Linked DNA regions of Homo sapiens: all the other regions are linked to region 3. The links are contacts of gene promoters, found by promoter capture Hi-C in human tissues and cell types (Jung and others, 2019). All regions are on one chromosome and are shown on one strand. Each heading gives the region's core, a stretch centred on a gene start or on the middle of the fragment in contact. The rest is flanking DNA. Distances are from core to core; before and after follow the strand shown. Region 1 holds the start of PCMTD2 (protein-L-isoaspartate (D-aspartate) O-methyltransferase domain containing 2). Region 2 overlaps ZGPAT (zinc finger CCCH-type and G-patch domain containing). Region 3 holds the start of SAMD10 (sterile alpha motif domain containing 10).

What was found. The method cuts DNA at HindIII sites, captures the fragments that hold promoters and counts their contacts. A contact is called where the count stands out against the background at its distance.
Region 1: the fragment with the promoter of PCMTD2 here is called in contact with the fragment with the promoter of SAMD10 in region 3 in 3 of the 25 tissues and cell types used here (dorsolateral prefrontal cortex, heart right ventricle and thymus).
Region 2: a contact is called between a fragment that was not itself captured here and the fragment with the promoter of SAMD10 in region 3, in 6 of the 25 tissues and cell types used here (H1 embryonic stem cells, IMR-90 fibroblasts, dorsolateral prefrontal cortex and 3 more).

The regions. Positions count from the first base shown.
Region 1 is chr20:64,253,874-64,257,069 of GRCh38, reverse strand. PCMTD2 (protein-L-isoaspartate (D-aspartate) O-methyltransferase domain containing 2) reads right to left here and starts at 1,322. Exons shown (of 6, transcript NM_018257.3): 1 at 1,200-1,322. The HindIII fragment of the contact is 11,329 bases long and covers 1-3,196 here.
Region 2 is chr20:63,722,163-63,725,066 of GRCh38, reverse strand. All of the region lies in intron 2 of ZGPAT (zinc finger CCCH-type and G-patch domain containing), which reads right to left. Among named protein-coding and RNA genes, the nearest start is that of LIME1, 13 kb to the left of the region's middle. The HindIII fragment of the contact is 9,604 bases long and covers 1-2,904 here.
Region 3 is chr20:63,977,686-63,980,891 of GRCh38, reverse strand. SAMD10 (sterile alpha motif domain containing 10) reads left to right here and starts at 1,250. Exons shown (of 5, transcript NM_080621.5): 1 at 1,250-1,515. The coding sequence starts at 1,425. RefSeq lists enhancers at 646-705, 1,301-1,816, 1,802-2,096 and a silencer at 1,136-1,455. The HindIII fragment of the contact is 26,934 bases long and covers 1-3,206 here.

The sequences.
Region 1 (3,196 bases), core at 73-2,572, 280 kb before region 3:
CACAAACAGATTTCTCACCTTGAAAACCAGAACTCTTACAAGCAATGCAAAGGGACTTTTTTCAAATACAGATGGTCTCCGACTTCGGATGGTTCGACTTCAGGTTTAACGATGTGTTTACTGGGATGCGACCCCACCGTAAGCCGGGGAGCACCTATACTTGAAAGGCTGTCACATGTACACTATTAATGGGCCTAACAAAAGCCAGACCAGTGGTACATGTTGGAGACAATGCCTACTAAATACACAGAGAAGCTTTCTAACAAATGAAGTTGCAATGAATGAAAGGAGCTCTTGATAAGCCCAGCCAAGTTCCACTGGAGGTACGAGCTGGGGTGGCGCAGGGAGCAAGGCCCTGGATCGGTCACCTCTGAGGTCTCCTCTCATCACCTGAGTGTAGGGCTCTATTTCCCCCAAGCGTGGCCACAACAATTTCTGAGTTGCTTATAGGCACCTCAACTTCACTCATTCTTGAATGACAGTCTATCAAACGCCCAGATAGGAGCTGTTTAGCCATTCCCTTGAGAAGAAAAATGAAAACTATTCTAGTCACACGAGTAAAGAGGGGGTGGATAAAGAGGGCGTGGATATTTAGGTGACTTATTTGAGGTGCAACGCTGGAGCAAACATTCATTTAGGAGACACGTCCCTCTCACAAAAACAAAACAAAGGCCCGAAGCTCAGGCAAGTTCTCCTTCCTCCAACTAACAAAGATCTCTTTCCATGCGTGAATTGAAGTCCCAGTGCTCTGCTCCAATTCTTACTATCTCCAAGGCACGGGGCGGGGGGGCGCAATTATTTTTTTAAAAAATCCTGTCATCTTCTGAAAGGGTCCAAGGCAGACTTTGTTCTAAACCTTAGCTCTTGGCTTGCCTTGGAACTGCAAACGTTTCCCACTTGGGAAGTCAAAGACAAGCTGCAGGTCTGGACTAACCAGACCCAAGAGTGTGAGTGAGCAACGGGCACCGGGAGAGACCGACGGGAAACCGCGAGCGCTCGGAGAGAGAAACGCGGGACGCCCTGGAGGCCGCTGGGGGGAGGTGAGGGTGCCCGAGGTGGGGAGGAGCGACGCCCCCAGAGGAGAGCTCCGGGCGCAGGGGTGCCGGGGGTGGGGAAGGAGGAGGGAAGGGGCCGAGGGGACACACCACCCGCTCGCCGCAGGCCGGACCGAGGGGCGGCGGCGGCGGCGGCGGCTCTACCTCCAGGCTCGGCCGGCCGACGGGTTCGGACCGCCTGGGCTGCCACCTGCAGCTCCTCGGGCGCGTCCCTCGTGTGTCCGCGGCCGAGCAGCGCCGCTCCAACCTCGGCCGCCGTAAACATCCGCCGCCGCCGCCGCCGCCGCCGCCTCTGCGCCTGCGCACAACGGCCTGACTGCGCATGCGCCGCGGGCCTGGCACTTAAAGGGGTGATGGCGGCGCAGGGCGGGCCCCACTCCCCTGGGCTGCCTGCGTCCGCCCGCCCCGCTGAGAGCTCGCTGAGCCCTAGGCCGGGTCCGAGTCTCGCGGGCGCGCCGTCCGCGCAGTGCTCAGCCAGGACGGACCCCGCACGGGCTGCCTCAGAAGCCCTCCCTAAGGGTCACCTGAGACGCCTTTGCTGACCCACGGCTGGGGGCGTTCCGCATCTCCAGGGTGCCCTGCGGCTGCTGACTCGGGGCCGGCGCTGCCCTCGGGCGGCCTCCCAGCACCAAGCACAGCCGCCCTGGGACCCCCGCCCTGCCACGCGGACGGCCACCCGGCCCTGGGGCCCTCCTACCCAGCCGGCTTTGTGAAATCAGCTGTGAAAGGAAGATATCCTGGGCCCCCAAGATCACTAAGGAAAACTCCAGCAGGAAACTGCTTAGGGCAGGCCTGCTTCCCATTCCATTCAAAGTCACTCCTCTGCTCACTTAGATAGATACATATCTGATTTGCCTCCTTTGAAAAGGCAAATGAGAAACTCAAAAGAATTTAACCGTTGGTGTCTCACCTATCTGTGGCCTGGACGCTCCCTCCCCGCTTGGAGTCTTCCTGCCTTTGCTTCAAGTTGTCCCGTCTTTCCAGACCGAACCGATGTGCTTCTTACATGTATCGATGGATGTATCCTGTCTCCCTAAATGTATAAAACCAAGCTGTGCCCCGACCACCTTGGGCACATGTCAGGACTTCCTGAGGCTGTGTCACGGGCGCGTCCTCACCCTTGGCAAAATAAACTTTGTAAATTAACTGAGACCTGTCTCCCATTTTCTGGGTTCACACAGCCCATTGCCCAAACTTCGCGTGGGGCTTTGCAGATAGGCTGTAGCTGCAGAACCCTTTCTTCAAGCACAGCCATGCAAGCCGCCTCATATGTGCAAGTGCCAGCGTCGCTGGGGCGGACGAGTGGGCCTGGGTCTCCGGTTCCCGCCTCCCTCCTAACTCGGCATTCCTCCCCAGACCCTGGAGCTCCACTTAGGAGCAGAGTTTGAAAACCAAAGGCCGGTGCCTTCACCACGTTATGTGGTCCCAGGGAGACCTCACTTCTCTTGTTGATCCATGGTCCTGGATCCACGGACCTGAGGTGGCCCACCACCTCATGACCTTCATGGGGCTCTCAGTGTCCTTCCACCTGAGAGCTTGTGGTTATTTGTGACTGTTTCAAATTACAGAAGCCCTGGAGTCATCCTTGACTCTCTTCCTACTGCCAGGGGACACGTCCTCCATACATCCCTCCTTGCCCTGTCCCAGCTCCCCTCACCTCTCCCCACCCCTCCCACCATTCCCCTGGGCTCTGGCGAGTGGTCCTCCTAAAACAGGTGATCACATCACTGCTGTCTTCAGACACTCCCTTTGTTCCTGGACCCAACTGAGGGTCGGGCTACTACTTCTCCTGGCCCAATAACAAGATGCAAATGAGCTGGAGAGTAAGAGAGGTTTTATTTCTGTAACCGGTTACAAGGAGAAGGCCTGGAAATTATCACCATACCAACTCAAAATTACAAAGTTTTCCAAAGCTCGTATACCTTCTAAGCTGTATGTCTACATGTAAGTGTGCATTCATCTACAGACATAAGTGATTAACTTCTTTTAATCTATGACTAAGGTTGAGTCCTGAAGACCCTCTTCTGGAGCCTCAGTAAGTTTACTTAATCTAAATGGGTCTAGGTGCTGGGGTGATTACCCTTATCTTGTCTCCTGCTAAATCATAATGATATGGGGAATTCCTTTAGACCCCCATAAAC
Region 2 (2,904 bases), core at 371-2,870, 260 kb after region 3:
CTCGCAGTGAGCCGAGATCGTGCCACTGCACTCCAGCCTGGGAAACAAGAGCGAGACCCCATCTCAAAAAAAAAAAAAAAAAGAAATTCTAAATGGGCTGGGCGTGGTGGCTCATGGTAATCCCAGCATTTTGGGAGGCCAGGACAGGCAGATCATGAGGTCATGAATTCGAGACCAGCCTGGCCAACATAGTGAAACCCTGTCTCTACTAAAAATACCAAAAAAATTGGCTGGGGGTGGTGGCAGGTGCCTGCAGTCTCAGCTACTTGGGAGGCTGAGGCAGGAAAATCACTCTAACCAGGGAGGCAGAGGTTGCAGTGATCTGAGACTGCACCATTGCACTCCAGCCTGGGCAACACAGTGAGACTTTGTCTCAAAAAAAAAAAAAAAAAATTCTAAATGAAGTTCTTCAGACTAAAAGGAAATGACACTAGACAGTAACTCAAATTCACAGGAAAGAAAAAGGGGCAAAAAAAAGAAAGGTAAAATATGGATGATACAAAAAAACAAGTATACTTTTTTTCTCTTTGAATTTCTTTCTTTTTTAAATAGAGATGGAGTCTCGCTATGTTGCCCAGGCTGGTGTTGAACTCCTGGCCTCAAGTGATCCTCCTGCCTTGGCCTCCCAAGGCTTTGGGATTACAGGCATGAACCACAGTGTCCAGATCTTAATTTCTTTTCTTTTCTTTTTTTTTTTTTTTTTAGGCAGAGTCTCGCTCTGTCATCTAGGCTGTAATGCAGTGGTGCGATCTTGCTCACTGCAACCTCCGCTTCCCAGGTTCAAGCGATTCTCTTGCCTCAGCCTCCCGAGTAGCTGGGATTACAGACACCCACCACCACACCCGGCTACTTTTTGTATTTTTAGTAGAGACGGGGTTTCACCATGTTGGCCAGGCTGGTCTTAAACTCCTGACCTCCGGTGATCCACTCACCTCAGCCTCCCAAAGTGCTGGGATTAGAGATAAAAGCCACCATTCCTAGTCCCTTTACTTCTGAGATAAGATCTGCACCCAGGCTGGAGTGCAGTGGCACAATCTCAGCTCACTGCAGCCTTGACTTCCCAGGCTCAAGTGATCCTCCCACCTTAGCTGGGATCCTCCCCCAAATAGCTGGGACTACAGGCGCGTGCCACCATGCCAGACTAATTTTTTGTAATTTTGGTGGAGATGGGTTTCGTCATGTTGCCCAGGCTGGTCTCCAACTCCCTGGCTCAGGCGATCTGCCCACCTCAGCCCCCAAAAGTGCTGGAGTTAAAGGCATAAGCCACTGCCTCCAGGCAACTTCTTTCAAAATACTTTTGAAGCAATAATTATAACGCTGAAGAGCTGAAGTTATAACATACATAAATGTATATATGGCAATAATACATGAAGGAGAAGAGGGGATGGAGCTATGTCAGAGGAGAAGGGAGGATGGAGCTATGTCAGAGGACAAGGGAGGATGGAACTATGTCAGAGGAGAAGGGAGGATGGAGCTATGTCAGAGGAGAAGGGAGGATGGAGCTATGTCAGAGGAGAAGGGAGGATGGAGCTATGTCAGAGGAGAAGGGAGGATGGAGCTATGTCAGAGGAGAAGGGAGGATGGAGCTATGTCAGAGGAGAAGGGAGGATGGAGCTATGCCAGAGGAGAAGGGAGGATGGAGCTGTGTCATAGGAGAAGGGAGGATGGAGCTGTGTCATAGGAGAAGGGAGGATGGAGCTGTGTCATAGGAGAAGGGAGGATGGAGCTGTGTCATAGGAGAAGGGAGGATGGAGCTGTGTCATAGGAGAAGGGAGGATGGAGCTATGCCAGAGGAGAAGGGAGGATGGAGCTGTGTCAGAGGAGAAGGGAGGATGGAGCTATGACACAGGAGAAGGGAGGATGGAGCTATGTCAGAGGAGAAGGGAGGATGGAGCTGTGTCATAGGAGAAGGGAGGATGGAGCTATGTCAGAGGAGAAGGGAGGATGGAGCTGTGTCATAGGAGAAGGGAGGATGGAGCTATGCCAGAGGAGAAGGGAGGACGTCATAGGAGGAGGGAGGATGGAACTATGTCAGAGGAAAAGGGAGGTTGGGACTGTGCTATAGGAAAATGGAGGGGGAACTATGTCATAGTACAACGGAAGTAGATCTATGTTATAGACACGTTGCCATACTTAGGCTCAGTGCAGTCGCTCACACCTGTAATCCCAGCACTTTGGGAGGCCAAGATGGGCGGATCACCTGAGGTCAGCAGTTCGAGACCAGCCTGACCAACATGGTGAAACCTCATCTCTACTAAAAATACAAAATTAGCCGGGTGTGGTGGGGGTGCCTGTAGTCCCAGCTACTCAGGAGGCTGAGGCAGGAGAATGGCGTGAACCTGGGAGGCGGAGGTTGCAGTGAGCCGAGATCACACCATTGCACTCCAGCCTGGGTGACAGAGTGAAACTCCATAAAAAAAAAAATGCTGTACTTTAAGTGTTAAGTTAGTAATAATCTGAAGTACATTGTGGTAAGTTAAAGATGTACATTGTCATCTCTAGAGCAACCACTAAGAAAATAACTTAAAACAGCATAGCTAAAAATTCAGCAACAGAGCTGGATATCACCAAAATGATGGAGTTGGCAGCTCCAAAGATCCGTCTCTCCAGCAAAGCAACTATTCTGCTGTCAAAACTGTCACAATAAACTTTTTTCTATTCAGCTGTCAAAACTGTCACAATAAACTTTTTTCTATTAAACTGTCAAAACCTCCCAATAAACTTTTCTGTAACTCTGGTGTCTACGAACCAGATGACTGCTCAATGAAGTAAGACCCTGCTAAATTTCAGGAGGACAGCTGGGCTATTTCTGCTCAGCCACTACTACCAGCTCACATGTAGCCATGGGGAAGGCAACCTGTATTTCTGATGTGGCTTGCTGGTGTCAGAAGGGATGATACAGAC
Region 3 (3,206 bases), core at 1-2,500:
CTGCTTCCCGAGTGCTCTGATGCAGTCCGGAGACCTGTCTGTGAGAGTGGGACCCATGGTCCCCTCCCTCTGAACCCATGGCCCCCTCCCTCTGAACCAGCCCAGCTGCCCGCCCTCGCCCCTGGTGCGCCCTGTCCGAGCAGAGCTGTACCCTGTCCAGTTGTGTAGAGCTTGTGTGTACTGGTTATGGGCACACCTGTCTGTGTGCGTCCTGTGCGCACACTGCTGCCCTACGCTTTTAGCACTCATATTCTTGAACCCCCATTCAGGCATCTGTCCCTCCAGTGGGACTAGAGACCCCACCCACGCCCGCCAACATGCCTTGGACATTCTGGTGAGGGCCACATCCTTAGCTCCTGGAGAGCTAATTGACGAAATAAATAACCGCAGCTGAGCTGTCGGGAACACGTCAGTACATGAACATGGCTGTCAAGCATGTGGGTGAATTCTGTGTGTGTGATTAGTGGGGTGTGTGCACAGAGGTCACGTGTGCTCGTGTTTTGGGTGCAAGTGCATGACTGTACTCTGTGCATGCATTTCTACATGTCTGTGTGCATCTCTGGTCCTCCTGCTGTAAGACATCCTCCAGAGCCCCTACATACACCCAGGGAGAGCACCCAGGCTCCTGGGCAGAGCAAGCCGAATAGCTGGTTGCAAGCCTGGCCTGCTGCTGCACCAGGCAACCACAGTTCCCTAGCCCAGCCCCATCTCAGCACTTCTCACTGGAGTCCTGGAGCAAACACACCGCTCCGGCCTGCTACAGCCTCCTTGGAGTTCCCCTCTGCCCCATCTCCAGGCAAGCCAAGCCCCTTTCAGTTACAGAGCACTGTACCGCCCCCTCTCCCCCGGGCACTGAGCCAGGTTCTGGGGCTGCAGAGGGAAGGGAGAACCACCCTGATGTTCACAGTGGGGTGGGCGGTAAGCAAGAGTCAAGCTGGTTTCTCCGGGGAAGCGGGTGCCTATTTGAAGGCGAGTAAAGACGTAGGAGACCGAGGAAAGTGTGTGGGAGGCGTTGACCTGCCCCTTGTCCTGGCCCCGGTAGGTAGAAGACCCCTGTGAGATGCCCCTCAGCCCACCCCCACGCACAGAGGGGCCCGACCTCAGAGGACGCCCGGCAGGTTCACGGGGACTCTCCTCCGCGGAGCCGTGCCCAGGGGCGCACGGACGCCCCTCGCCCTGGCGGACAGCCTTGGTGCACGCAGGCCCGCGCGCCGCCGACACACCTCGGAGCTCCCGGAGCGCGCCCGGCACACAGGGCTCGGCGGCAGGTGCCTCGTCGCGCACACTCGCGGGCCGCGGGGACCGGCTCGGGCGCGGGGCCGGCTGGGGCGGGGCGGGGCGGCGGCGCGCGTTCCCCGCCGGCCACACCGGCCGCCCTGCACTCGGCGAGGGGCGTGTGCGCGGGCCTGGCACCCGCGGGCCCCATGTTCACCGAGCTGAGGTCCAAGCTGAGCCCCCCGCGTGGCCGCGCCGGGGCCGTGCGCGCGGGCTTCGGGGAGCGCCGGGATGTGGACGGTGAGCGGGGCTGGATTGGGGAGCGGGGATTTCTCGGGCGGGGGTCTCAGGGACCCAGAGGCACGGGGGCGGGGCGGGACCCGGCGGGCTTCGAGCGGCGGTGGCTGGGGGTATTCGGCGGATGTCTCGGCTCAACGGGGTCCCGTAGCCTTTGTCCTGCTTTAGGGGGCAGCCAGCCTCAGGCCTTGGGGGTCAGCGCGCCCTTGGCTTGGGGTGAGGGGGTGTCAAGCCGGGGCGCCTGTGTCCAGGCTGGCACTACGCTCGGGTCACCTTTTCCTGCGCACGGGGAAAACCCTCCCCCGCTTTTGCAGTGGGGCCGAAAGGGGGCCGAGGTCACATCCCGCCTCGGTGCCCCCGCCCCATTTCCTTCTGGAATCCTGACGTTGGGGCGGGAGGGACCGGACCGACAGACCGCGGGACGGACGGAACTCCCTCCGGGAGTGCAGGCAGGAAATGGGCGGAGCCTGCTTGGCCGGGGCAGGTGCCGTGCGGGCTGAGGAGTCCGACGGGTTTCCCCGGACTGCCGCGCGCTTCTGCACCAGCCCCGCCGCTCGAGGCCCTGCAAAGCCCGGCGACCACGGCGCCTGTCCGCTGGAAGGCGCGGGCTTAGAATAAGCCTTTTCCCACAGCACTAGGGGCCACCTCGGGGCGGTGGCCCACTGAGCACACCCTCTGCTGACCCCAGACCTCAAATTTGGAGTCACCCAGGGGTCCGGTTCCTGAAAGTTGCAAGAATGGGGGCGGAAGGTGTTATGTCTCCTAAGTCTTACAGGCGTGGGAGGACGGGGAAGTAGGATGTGGTTTTCACCGATACTTAGACCTCCTAGACACATCCCCAACCCCTGCCCTGGGTGTGGAGTGGGTGGCTGAGTCTGAGGCCGGGAGGGTCTCTCACTCTAGGGTGGATGGGATGAGGGCCCTAGCGTGGGAACCTCACCTGCCCTGCTGAAGGCCTGGGTGCTAGGGTGCTGTAAAGACAGGGGCAGGCCTGTGCCCACCTTCTGTCTCCCCACAGGCTCTGTTCACTTGCAGATACCATACAGAGCCTTCATTCATTCATTCATTGACAATGAATGTGGGGTGCCCCTCTGTAACCAGACCTGGATCAAGACGCCTGCCTCCCCAGACTCAGGTCAGCAGTGCCCCCAGAGATGATGACAAAGCTCAGATGAAACACTTTAATGCAGTTACTGTGGGAAGAGGGAGCACAGAGCATCACCGTGGGTCCCCAAGCAATGGCTGCACCCCACATACCTGTGCTGACCCGCCCATATCCAATGGGTACCCACCATTCACATGGCCGGTGTTGTCCCGGGCTGCAGGCCCTGTGGGGGGCGGCACAGCTGGAGAGCCCAGCGCGTGTTTGCGGAGTGAGCCCTGCTTGTCAGTTGGCCCACAGTTCAGGCTGTCAATGAGTCATAGTCAGTGAGTCGGGCCCCAACACCAGATAGGGCTGTGTGAACTGGGTGCCTTCAGTGGCGATGGGCAAGCAGCATCCTCAGCCCGGTTTCCCCAGCACAGACGACCTCCCCGGACTCGGGATCTGCCTTTCCTCAAAGCAGGCCGTGTGTGCACTTCCTGGTCTGGTGTGGTGTGTGCAAGACTTGTGGGCCAGCCCAAGGCAAGGGTGAGGTCAGGGCTGTCCCAGGATAGCTCCTCTTGTCATATGTCTCAGGTTCCCTTCCCTAGAG